Regions from separate parts of the Homo sapiens genome. Here regions 1 and 3 are each linked to region 2. The links are contacts of gene promoters, found by promoter capture Hi-C in human tissues and cell types (Jung and others, 2019). All regions are on one chromosome and are shown on one strand. The core of a region is centred on a gene start or on the middle of the fragment in contact, and the rest is flanking DNA. Distances in the headings are between cores, read along the strand shown. Region 1 overlaps GRIK2 (glutamate ionotropic receptor kainate type subunit 2). Region 2 holds the start of GRIK2 (glutamate ionotropic receptor kainate type subunit 2). Region 3 overlaps GRIK2 (glutamate ionotropic receptor kainate type subunit 2).

Region 1 (3,807 bases), core at 8-2,507, 200 kb after region 2:
ATGATATAGGCAATTGTTGCTGCAGGAGTTTAGCTGGAGTGGAGAGTTAGAAAAACTGAACAGTTGGAGATAAGGCTGAGATATTTCCAAATAAGGAATTTAGATTGCTTCTGGCATCCTATGGGTGTTTGAAGGTGTTTGATACAATGATTGTGATCTAAGTAAGAACTTGGTTTGGTGTTGGCATAATAGATTTAGAATAGGAAGTAACTGGGGGCAGTAGATCACTGATAGATAATTTCCAGTCTGGATATAAAGTGATGGAGGTGATGATGGGAATAGAAGCAACTTCCTTCATAAAGATTTCCCTAACTCTCTGCTCTAAGTTGATTTCTCCCAAAGCTTCACTATTTGTTTCATATATTCTGATCTTTAATAATTTGCTGTCGTGTAATGAGCATCATAATAATAATAATTAAGATTTCTGTAGTTATTTATATTTTACAGAGTGCTTTCACTGTTCCTCTGACTCTTTCAAACATACCATGAGCTAGGCAGGACAGGAATTTCATCTCCATTTTTAGATGTGAAAACTAAAGCCCAGCTGCTTAATGCTATTATTCCTCTCTCACAATATTATAAACTTCTTCAAGCTACAGAGTGTATTTCTATTTTTACAGAGCCTAAAATAGAAAGGCAGTCAACAGATTTTAGTAGGATGTGTGGGAGCTCATATTTGAGGCAATACAAACTCATAAAATTAGGTGTTATAGATTACGCTGCCAAAAGATGACTCCAAGTAATATTAAAGTTGACTTTTTCATTTTTTACTTCCCAATGAGCAAAGTTTAGTTTTTGAACAGATGACAGCTTCATATGTTACTTTAGGTATAATATCACATCTGGGGGATATTTCTTTTTTCTCATGCTATTGGAAAATTTTACAGAATTTTCAGATAGATTGCGCTATAAGTATTTCTCTAAAATGAATATGCCTCCCCATGAAAAATGTACATATATCCAGGGATGCTTACATCACATGAAAAAATCTTGTAAGAAATAAAAGCATATGTAAAAAACAAAAAATGTATTATGAAATGTCAGGTGTTGGGATAAAACATTAACCTAAATTCACAATTCCTGATAATCCACAAGTAATAAGTGAGTTTATTAATTAAATGAGTTATTACTTTTCTTAAGATACCTTGAAAAGGAAAACATTCCATGCCAATTTAGTAATGTAATAGAGGTAGCACTAAAATGTTATACCAAGCACTGGAACAGGCTTGAGTGTGCCGGCTTTATCAGTAATTTATTTTCTCAACATAGGAAAGTCAATGGGGTTGGAATAGATGATCTCCGAATTTTCTTTCAGAGAGTAAATACATCTATTCCGTTGTTATTTAGTATTTAACATGTAACTGATGCTCAAGACACAATAATGAATAAAAAAGACATTTTCATATCCTCCTGGAGTTATATTTGATGGATGTATTATATCACAACTTGGAGTAGAAAGTGCTTGTGCCACACAAAAAGCATAGTTTTTCAAAGAAAGCACAACCATAAAATGGGTTTAAGGCAAGGAAATATATAGCATATGTTTGAGAAAAAGTTGTATTTTACTTGAATACTAGTGGAATTTTTAGTCTCAGAAACAAAATGAGTATAGAGTTTCAATAAAGATATAAGAAAATCCCTTACCAAAAAGACCTTAATGAAGAACAAAACAAAATTGGTGACAAGTTGGCTCTTGGTAGCTTCTAAGTAAAATTCAGTGGAGTAGCAAGGCAAAGCCAGGTTGAAGGCATTTATAGTGTAAGTGGATGGTAACAAAGTGGAGGCAGTGACATATGAGTTATGTTTAAAGAAATATTTGTAGTTTAAAAGCATGGATGAAGGCAGATAGGGCGGTGAATTACAGGGAATCAGAATTGGTGAGACATCTTTTTGTGTTTTTTTCTCTTTTTTTTCTTATGTTGTTTTATACTTTAAGGGAGAATAAAGAAAAATTTTAGACAAATAAGCATGTGGGCAAGATAGCAAAGTCTGGAAGATCTTATATCAGGGCAAATGTTGGTGGCTAAGCTTTGGAATATACAAATGAATAAAAGAGGGAGGTTAAGGTACCGAGAAACCTCAAGTAGGCATTCATAGACTTTTCAATAACTTTTAAAATTCTAAAAAGTTTAGAATAGCCACTTTTGACAATGTGATGATCAGTCAAAAACATGAAAACCAAAAGGAATAAAAAGGAAGAAGGCAAGAAATGGAAGGAGAAAGGGAGGAAAACAGGGAGAGAAGAAAGGTGGGAGAGACAGACAGAAGGAGGGGAGTGATGTACAGATCAGTTAGCAAACTGTCTGTGAAGGACCAGGTAGTTACAGACTTTCAGTATTTGGGGGTATATGGTTTGTTGCAACTGTTCTACTCTGCTTTGTAAAAGCACAAAAGTAGTCTTAGACAATATATAAGGCAATGAGTGTGGTTGTGTTTCAATACATCTTTATTTATAAAAACAGATAGCTGGTCAAGTTTGGCCTAAGGGCCATAGATTGCTGACATTCCAGCCAGATGATGCCAGATTCTATGTAGTTCAAAACAAGCCATATTAGCATGGTCCTATGACTTTCTTGAATGTAAGAATAGGGATTTTATATGTGTATATATATACACACACACAGGTACAAACACACACATGTGTATGCATACACACACAGACATATATATAAACACATATTTATATACACATAAATATATTTGTGCATGTATATATATATGTGTGTGTGTGTGTGTGTGTATATATATATATATATATATATTCATACACATATAAATGCTAGAAGTCATCTGGAGTCTCCAACTCCTTGAATCTGCTTAAGATCAGTCTGTCACAGACCCAGTTTTTATGGGCCTTATATTTTCTTGGTCACCTATGGTTCTGACTTTCTTCTATACCAGTGTTTTCTTCCTATGTGTTTTATACCCTTTTATTTACCTCTGCCCCGGTGTTCAGCTAAATATAATTCATTAAAATTTTTTTTTTTTTTTGCTTTTTTAAATTTCAGCTGCAAATCCATGAAGGCAAGCATGTTGTGAGGAAAATTTCTTTTACTAACAGAGTGAGGGTCTCCAGGAGTTCTAGCCTCATGAATCACAGAGCAAACAACTTCAAATTTTAAACTGATTTCAGGCATTCATATTTTCACAAGGCCTTTGGGTTATCATGCCACCAAGACATTATCAGTGGTCAACTGACCCTTGCAGAATTGTTTTTAAACTAATCCTTTTTTTTTTTCTTGCTGTGTCCTTTTTTTTTTTTCCTCTCAGGCAAAATAAATGAATGAATGGTGTCACGCAGGATTCAGCTAATTTTTTCATTATTTATATCTTTGCTAACAACCATCACCTAGAAATTTACCTTTTTACCTGAGAGGCTTAACTTCTAAGAAGTATCAGTTGTTTTTTCTTTTTTAACTAGGGTCTAGCATTCTAGGTCATCTAATTTGTGTTATCCTGTGAGATCACAACAACTCTGTATTGTATGGTTGGTATTATCTTCTACATTTTAATAGATGATAGGAAGAATCAAGAGATAGTCAAAATGGGAAGCATAAACTCTTTCTTAAAGGGTGAGTGAATGAAATTTATAATTTGGTGTCTATGGGAAGTGGGCTTGATGATACTCTAGATTTAGATTAGAGTTAATTAGTAGCACCTCATTTACTTTTGACTACTTTCTCAGAAAAGTAATCATAAAAACCCTTAAATAGAGGCAATGTTTTAACTGCATGGAGAAAGAAATGGAAGCAGCAATTAAAGCTCTTCTAGAACCCAGGAGTACTTTTCTTCAATAAAAATGCAGTG
Region 2 (4,391 bases), core at 30-2,529:
TGAAATGGTCTCTTGAGCCCAGTGCGCCTGGCCTGTTCCCGCTTAGCCTCACTTAAATCTCCTCGCGAATCTGAGCTGGCCAACTTCCTCTGGGGGAAACTGCTAAACTCAGCTCCAGTTAATATTGTAGGGCTGAGGATAAAATAGCAACGGTTTTGAATAGATGTTGACTTTTCCGACCCAGAGGAGCGGAACTCAGGGATTGTTTGCAAAAGCTAATCGTTTCCACAGTGAAGCAGGGAGAGCCTGGTGCGCTCACCGCCGCCAGCCCCTCCCTGGAAGCCAAGCTGCGGGAAGACTCTGGGACTCAGTTGCCCCTCCCCATCTCTGGCCTTTAAAAGAGTCCTCCCGAGAACTTGGACCAGTGGCCGCCAAACCAGGGCTGCTTCCCAGACTCCTGTCTCCAATCTTGGAGTCTGCGACCTCAGGTTCGGCGCCCACTAGATCTCGAATCCAACTTCTTTCTGAAATGTGTTTAGGTTGAGAGTTCCGGGGCCTGGGCGGGAGTTTGGTGGGGAGAGGGGAGTCTGCTATTTAAGGCGCCATACATACACAGAGACAGCCCGCCCGACCTCCTAACACTCAGGAAAAGTCAATTTCCAAGCATCTGTTCTCAATAATGGTGGCAGGGAGCAGGGCACTGTGACTCCCAGCATCTGAGGGAATACCCGCAGCAGCGCTACCAGAGCGCATTTGCTCTATGCGCTGGAGGTCGGGGTGGGAGGGTGCGCAGATCAAGATCTTTTTTTGCGAACCTCAGGGAAATGACCGTAGTTGGACTAAGAGGTCCACTTTGGAGACTACCAGCAGCCCTCCAAGCCCTGGCAGTGGAGAAGTTTCGTTGCTATGGTTTCGGAGAGGCATAAAAGCCATCACCCAGAAGCAAATGTGTTTGGGCTCCTTATATGTGTTGTCACCACCCAAGGCTAGGCAAATTCCTCGGCGCTTTGCATGCATCACTCACTCCCTGACAGAGCATCTTGGCCTTAGTCTCCCCATCCCAGGAGGCGGGTGTGCGCTAAGGGAGCGAAGTCCAGCCGGAGGCTTCGTAACATCCAAGTCTAGGGACACCAGGAATTCTCTCGCTCTAGCTCCTGTGGTCCAGGGGTGGGAGATGCCCCCGAGTGGCCGCGGCGGCCAGGAGCGTGCAGGGGCCACGGGGAAAGGAGCGCGGCGCCTTTAAAGCAAGAGGCGAGGAACCCCCGCCAGGAGGCGTGTCTGTCTCTGCCGCCGCCGCCGCCGCTGCTGCTCCTCGGTCACCGTCTTCGCCGCTGCCGTCACTCGCGCTCGGCGCCGGCGGCTGCGCTGGTCGGTCTGGTAGCTGGGGACTTTTCCGCCCGACCTCCTCCGGCTGCTCCTCCCCGAGGACCACCCCACCCCCTCCCCGCCCACCTCACCCCTAGCTCCAGGTAAGGACTCCCCGGCTGTGGGCTGCACTCCGGGCTCCTTCACGAGGTGTTTGTTTTCAAGAGGACGGGAGGGACTGCGGGTGGGCGAGGGGCATTTTCCACCTGGAGAGAAGGAAGAAGGCGAACAGTAGCGCTGCGGACGTCCGTGCGCTCGGGGCGCCCGCTGGACGGATTCACTGCGAGTCTTTGTCGGGCTTATCTCAGCCAATTCCCGTCAAGCATGCAAGTGGCTCTGTTGGCTGCAGTCGCCTATGTTCTCCACATAAAATGATTTAAGAAGTGGACGTGTCAGGAAGTGGCCTCAGCTACGGGGACTCACGCGAGGCGAAGAGAATGAGACAGATGGCAAGAAGCTGTGTGGCTGCCGGCGGGTCTGACGAACTCCCCATCCCTCCTTCTGCCCACCCATCCTTCCATTAACCCTACTCCTTAGTTCTGCGCTGAGGAAGTATATTTATTTTAACCGGCACCCGTATTAAGAGCTTCTGAAAAAACTTGGAGGGCGTCCCATTAGGGTAAGGAGTGGGCAGTGTTACCAGGGTGGATCATAAACCTCAAGAACTTTTAACGAACCACATCCTCTGATATTTTTACCTTTAAGGAGATAGAGTTTCTTTACCAAACAACACGACCGAGCTGAGGCTCCTTAGAGAATAATTTCCAATTTAGGCAATGGGGAATATTAGAAAACTTACTATTAGTAGCCTTTTGGTAATGCACAGATTATCTTCTATCGTTTATTCATCTCCATACTGTAAGTATTCTGTCATCAGAAATTATCTTATGGATTGATGATTATTTTCATTTCACGAGAGATGATTGGTTCATTTGAGTCTTAATTAGTCAGTTTAGTTACTGAAATAAATGCAATTGTATTTCAATCTTGATTTGTCTTAGTTCATTACTTTCTAACTTTATAGAGTCTATTCCTGTAACCACCAAGGCAGCCTATCAACTTCCAGTGGCCTTAAAAACTTTTGAGTCAAACAAACAACAAAAAATTGAAATGCACAAGAGCAAGGTGATAGAGAATTGAGCAATGTTTGGAAGTCTTATCTGTTTGTTTTCTCCTATTTAAACCCATTGAAAATCACACAGGCTGAAATTTAAAAAAAAAAGTTCTGGGATATGTAAATTTATTCCACTTCAATTTGTTAATTAAGATACACTTATTTTAGTGTCTAAAAATTAATCAAAACTCTAAATGTCATTAATCATCAATGCAGCAGAATGTTGCTGGAACAGCTGATAATGTGTTCAGAATCATAAGGGATACCACAGCATGCATAGTTAAGAAGAGTGAGTTGCAAGTATGCAACAGTGTGATTTCAACTGAAACCTGACTCAGTCCTGACTTTATTCTCTGAGATCTTTAATGCCATGTATAAACAGGCTGTTTGTTTTAGCTAAATTGCTATGCAACAGGCCACTTGCATGGAATAATAGGTTAGGTGTTACTATAAGATGAGGTTTTTCAAATGTCACATAACAGCAGGACTTCCGTGACAAGTCAAGTGGAATCCTTAGTAAGAATTCCATGTGAAAAATTTAAATATAGCTATGGCATGTAAGAACCTTTGAAACATCTTTGAAATTCAGGTTGTTCTGGGGTATGTATTTGCTGTTTCCAGCAAAAGGTATAGGCATTGTCTTTTTAAATGTTGTGCTATAAAGATTATTACACATTTTCTCATACCCCAGCAGGTGGCAGCTAACTAGAATAAGATTCATTTTCACTGGCAGAATAGGAAACTAAAATTGTTTCTCAAGTAATAGTGCCCAAGAATAAGAGGTCATTAGTATCTGCAAATATAAAAATATAGTGAAAGATGAAGCTAGTGGGTTTTTTTGTTATTGTTGGAAGAAGCTTTGCATTAACATGATATGCATTTTCTTCTTTGTCAATTTATCATAGGTTTGATATTTGTGTCAGCCTTCTATGATTTTTTTGAGGTATACTTCTAAATACAGCTTCTCTCTGGGTGTGCGTGTATGTGTGTTTTTGCAGTTTGTTATCTCTGCTTTGACCTTGGAATCTACAGAGCTTTGGCTCATAGAAATAAAGAGTGCCATATGGTTAAAATGAGGAAAAAAATGAGACCATAGAATAAAATATATAAATCTTACTAAGTATATATAATTGCCTGATATCCAATAGCAGTAGTTTTCTCTTTCCTTTAAGGAAGAAGCAAATTACAGAACTGACACAATTTTTAAAAGGGTTAAATCTAGTCAGTGAAATACTGTGTAAGGAATTTATTAATCCTTCATATAACCTCAGAACTATGATGTGTGGTATCAGTATTGGGGAGAAACTTGTAATAACTTCAAAATTGCCACATGTTAAGGCATCAACTATGCCACCAAATCATTTTATTGTAGTATAGGGATGTAAATTTAGCATTCCCCCCCCCCCCAGGAAGTGAGTGAGTTTAATGTGAAAGAACAAGAATTAATCTCATTACCCTAGTAACAGATGGAAATCTGGAGGTGGAGAATTGAAAGTGATAACTAATTGTACATTTAAAAAATGTCTTTAGCCACTGAATATTGACAGCATGTTATTTGGCATTCTGAATTGTGGTCTTTCTAGCAATTTTTTTTTGTACTGACAATCAAGTAGTTTAGTGTTCATGAGGAATCTCACAATTAATATAAGTAGTTTTTTTAACAGTATGCCCTATTACAAAAAAAGATAACTACATCTTGGGCTTATCAAGCAATTGCACTGAAAAATACACACAACACAGTTGATAAAATAGTCCTCTTGATAATGTGAACAATGCAATAATTCCAATTCCTTTACTCTGTGTAGTAGAAATTTACACATTGTCACTCAAATATCATGTTAGTTATTTATTGTGCTACTTTCAATGTACTACTCCAGAATAATGAATGCCAGGAGCGCTGTCCGTGGTCCTGAAGAAAGGTCGTCTCCAGTCTTTTAGAAGTTCAACTGGACAGGTGGAATTGCTGTCTGTT
Region 3 (3,764 bases), core at 1,227-3,726, 220 kb after region 2:
GTATGCTTTGATGAGATAACTTAGCAACAATGAAGAAGGTTATTGTCATTAGAAATAAGGTTGAAAATACTGGAGCCAGTCTTTTTATTAAATCAAAAATACCTGTTGTTTCATGGCTCAAATGACTCAAAAGCAAGTAGGAAGGGTGGGAGATATTTTTCAGCGTGAAGTGGAGACCAGACACTCCTCCTCGCCTGGAAAATGAGTACATTACGCTATATACTTTCCACATAATCACCTTTTGGGAAGCTGTCACCTACTTATTTATTTTTCCATGGTGTGTCCACGGGTCACATGTATATATGTTTTATTTTTGTTTTCACTTTTTAACCAGCATACATTTAGGCACTCACCAACTTCACACAAAATTAATTTCAAATTGTTATAGTCATAGTTTATATGGACATAAAACTCTTAGAATTTGTTCAAAGAAACAAAGTATTTACCACTTAGAAAGAGGAAAGTTATTGAGAAAATAGCCAGAAGTTGAGGATAAAGAGTGGCAATATTACCCAGCAAGAAGCAATACAGAATGGCAATTAAAAGATGGGGCCTGGACTGAGGTCCCTCGTGTCTTAATCCAGCATCCATCACTTGCCAACTGTGTAACTGACCTTAGGAAGGCACTGAGGATGCTAGACCTGTTTCACGGTCTTGCTAAAGCAGAATTCAATAAGCTCAGTGAAGCAGGTTCTTTGGACTAAGAATTAATCTACCTTGCAGGACTGAAACATAAAGAAGAAAAACAAATCTTAGACTCAGTAATTGGGACAACTTAAATATTATTATATTCAGACTTAAAATATAAATTTTATTTGATGGGAAATAGATTAAAGACAGAAAACGTGAGTCAAATAAACTTTTTGATGACTTTTTATTAATGTTTGTAAAATACACAGTGCCTGATGTAGCGTATGATGTCAATAAATGTTGACTGTTAGGAACTTTCATTCTTCAATGAGATTGAGCTTAGGTGTAAACATGTTTCATACTTATTTAAATTTCTTTAGCTTCAAATTGCAGGAGTTTGCATTATGTTTGAAAGGGGTCTGGAACATTGAGCACATAAAGCAAAGACACAATTAGTTCAGTGCAGTTAGGACCAGTGAGGAATGTTTTCCCAGAAAAGGTGACTATTTCAAAAGCTCACAATGAGAGATAAATTTACAGATGTATGTGTTAATGTGTGTGTGTGTGTGTGTGTGTGTGTGTGTGTGTGTAGGTACATAGGTCAGTAAGAAGAAGCTGGGCTCCTGGGCAGATGAGCCCTGTTTGGAAAGCAATGGAGGCATTTGATTTTGGTTCAATCAGGTAAAGGTAAGTGGTTTAATATGGCTGTATGACTGGGGAAGTGGGAGTGGTAAGAAAAGAGGTTGGAAAGGAAGGTAGAAGACAAATTATGAAAAACTTTGTAAATAGCATTAAGCTTAAAGATTAGTCATTGAAAGATTTTAGGAAGTTGAATAATAAGATCAATGTTTCACGTTATAAAAATGACTTTGATTGTAGTAGCTATAAACTACTGAAAAAAGCTAGAATAGGTGCAAGTATCCATGAAAAATCCAGTGGAGATGCATTGTTGTGGTGTGGAAGACATAGAACTTCTGGACTTAGTCAAGCATATGAAAAGGTTTACAGTGACATTCCTGTAGAAATGATGGGAATCTATAAACTGTTAGCTAGAATAATTAAGAAGACCATTACCTAGTTTAACAATAGGGACAGACTCCAGTGGGGTATCTATGAGGTTATGGTCTAAAGCTTTGCTTGGTCTTTAACTCTTTCTGGCTTATGATTTTTATCACTGACTTAGATATAAAAGCAAAACTGAATATGACCTAAAGGCAGAAGGTAAAGAAACACATTTCACATACCTTTGTAATATTAGTAAATTACCTTGATACATTAGATGTTGAATAAGTTAATAATAACAGTTGATGATAGAATTAGGCCCCAAGTGGTTTTAATTAGAAAATTAGACCAACTGTAAGTAAAAGATATTAATCAGGGATACTTGTAAAAAAATTTTAAAAAAGTACATCACAAACATAAACTTTTTAAACAATAAGCTTAAGATGAATGAGCAGTGTGATACTGTACTGTTAAAAAAATCCAGTATTTTATCTATAATACATTAACTTATGGAGCTGGCCACTCTCTCATAATTTGCTTTGCTTGGATACACTTGGAGTATAACATTGAACTGTGGACACACTAGGCTGTGTTCAGAAAAAAAAAAAAAACTAGAAAAACGAAAGGATCAGATTAGTCATGTGACAAACAGTTAAACAATTTCAAAGTGTTAGGCTAGATGAAAGAAACGCAGTAGGAAGATGAAATGTTTTCAAATTCTGGAAGATAATCATGTTTAAGTTGGGATTAAATGTATCTCAATAAAAAGATATGATTAAAAACTTTAGGAAAACAGGGGATGGATTAATATATGGGAGAACTTTGTGCTGGAGCTCTCCAGAGAGGTGAGGGACTGCTTCAGATGATAAGTTTGTCATTCCTGGAGGCCAATGTGTAGTAATAAAGGCAATCTATGTATCTGAATGATGAGTAGACCAGATGATTTACAGATTGTATGATTCTTAGACTCCATCTTTTACACTCAGGATAATAGTGCAATTTTAGTGCATAGTACATGTAAATATTTGCAGGTTAATTTAATGGTCATTTTGAGAAGTCTGTTAAAAATATGCATTAAGAACAAAATGAGTATTGGGGTTTTATTTCTTCTTGTCCATTTTCTTTTCCCCCCAAACTTTTATTTTGAATTTTTAAACATACAGAAAAGTTCAAACAATTGTATAAATAAACACTCATAAGCACTTTGATTAAACAATTGCTTATATTTTTCCAGTTTTTTGTTTATGATACTTCTTTCATACCTAAAGACTTGATCTCCTAAGAGTCAGGATATTTTCTTATATAACCACTATATCATTATTTTGCCTAAGGAGAAAAAAATGATACCCTAATGTCATTTAATATCCATGGCATGTCATTTAATAGCCAAAGGCCAATGTAACATTGTCCTTTGGCATTATATTGTATAAAAATTAAAGAAGCTTGATGATTTTGTCCTTTGGATAATGATTTGTACAAAATTAAAATGCAGAGGAACCTTTTGCAATTGTTTAGACAGGAAATAAGATTGGTATAACATTTGATGGAGAAAATCAACATATCTTCTGGGAGGATAACAGATGGTGTGCCATTTAGAACATCAGTTTCTTTATTAAATTAAAGTCTACAAAACACAGATTGTACTCACTTTAAGGTAAGACCTATTTGAAAAGTCTCAGAGGTTAGATGTGACGTTGGTTGGTACATCCATCATGGGTTTATGAGTCATACAGTCCTCAGTAGTAGTTACAATTGATTTAAAAGAGAAAGGCATTGACTAGGCTTTAGCAGTTGACTAATCTTTTATTTCAAGTCTTAAGTAGTGAAGTTCTTTTGTGAGTCAGAGACTGTGATGTGAAAAGTTTCAGCACTGAGTGTTCTGTGTAAACCAGGGATCACTTGACATTTGGTTTCCTATATCTACAAAACAAAGGAGGGCAATTGTGCCCATGAAAAAGAAAGGTATTCTCCTCTCCTTCTTTTTTTCTTCTTTTAACAAGCCTTTTGTAGTGAAGAGAACTGTTAACTTTTAATATAAGCTTGGAAAAAGAATTGCGGGCATTTTATGGTTTGATATAGAGGTTATGTGAGATATGATGGCCCTTCCTGAATTAAGAAATAAAACAATGATA

The links. Contacts are between HindIII fragments. The study calls those that stand out against the background at their distance.
Region 1: a fragment that was not itself captured here is called in contact with the fragment with the promoter of GRIK2 in region 2 in 2 of the 25 tissues and cell types used here (H1 embryonic stem cells and IMR-90 fibroblasts).
Region 3: a fragment that was not itself captured here is called in contact with the fragment with the promoter of GRIK2 in region 2 in 2 of the 25 tissues and cell types used here (H1 embryonic stem cells and mesendoderm cells).

What each region holds. Positions count from the first base shown.
Region 1 is chr6:101,592,980-101,596,786 of GRCh38, forward strand. All of the region lies in intron 2 of GRIK2 (glutamate ionotropic receptor kainate type subunit 2), which reads left to right. Among named protein-coding and RNA genes, the nearest start is that of GRIK2, 200 kb to the left of the region's middle. The HindIII fragment of the contact is 5,016 bases long and covers 1-3,765 here.
Region 2 is chr6:101,392,429-101,396,819 of GRCh38, forward strand. It overlaps GRIK2 (glutamate ionotropic receptor kainate type subunit 2), which reads left to right and starts at 1,280. Exons shown (of 17, transcript NM_021956.5): 1 at 1,280-1,409. The HindIII fragment of the contact is 9,322 bases long and covers 936-4,391 here.
Region 3 is chr6:101,611,534-101,615,297 of GRCh38, forward strand. All of the region lies in intron 2 of GRIK2 (glutamate ionotropic receptor kainate type subunit 2), which reads left to right. Among named protein-coding and RNA genes, the nearest start is that of GRIK2, 220 kb to the left of the region's middle. RefSeq lists an enhancer at 3,048-3,764. The HindIII fragment of the contact is 3,887 bases long and covers 534-3,764 here.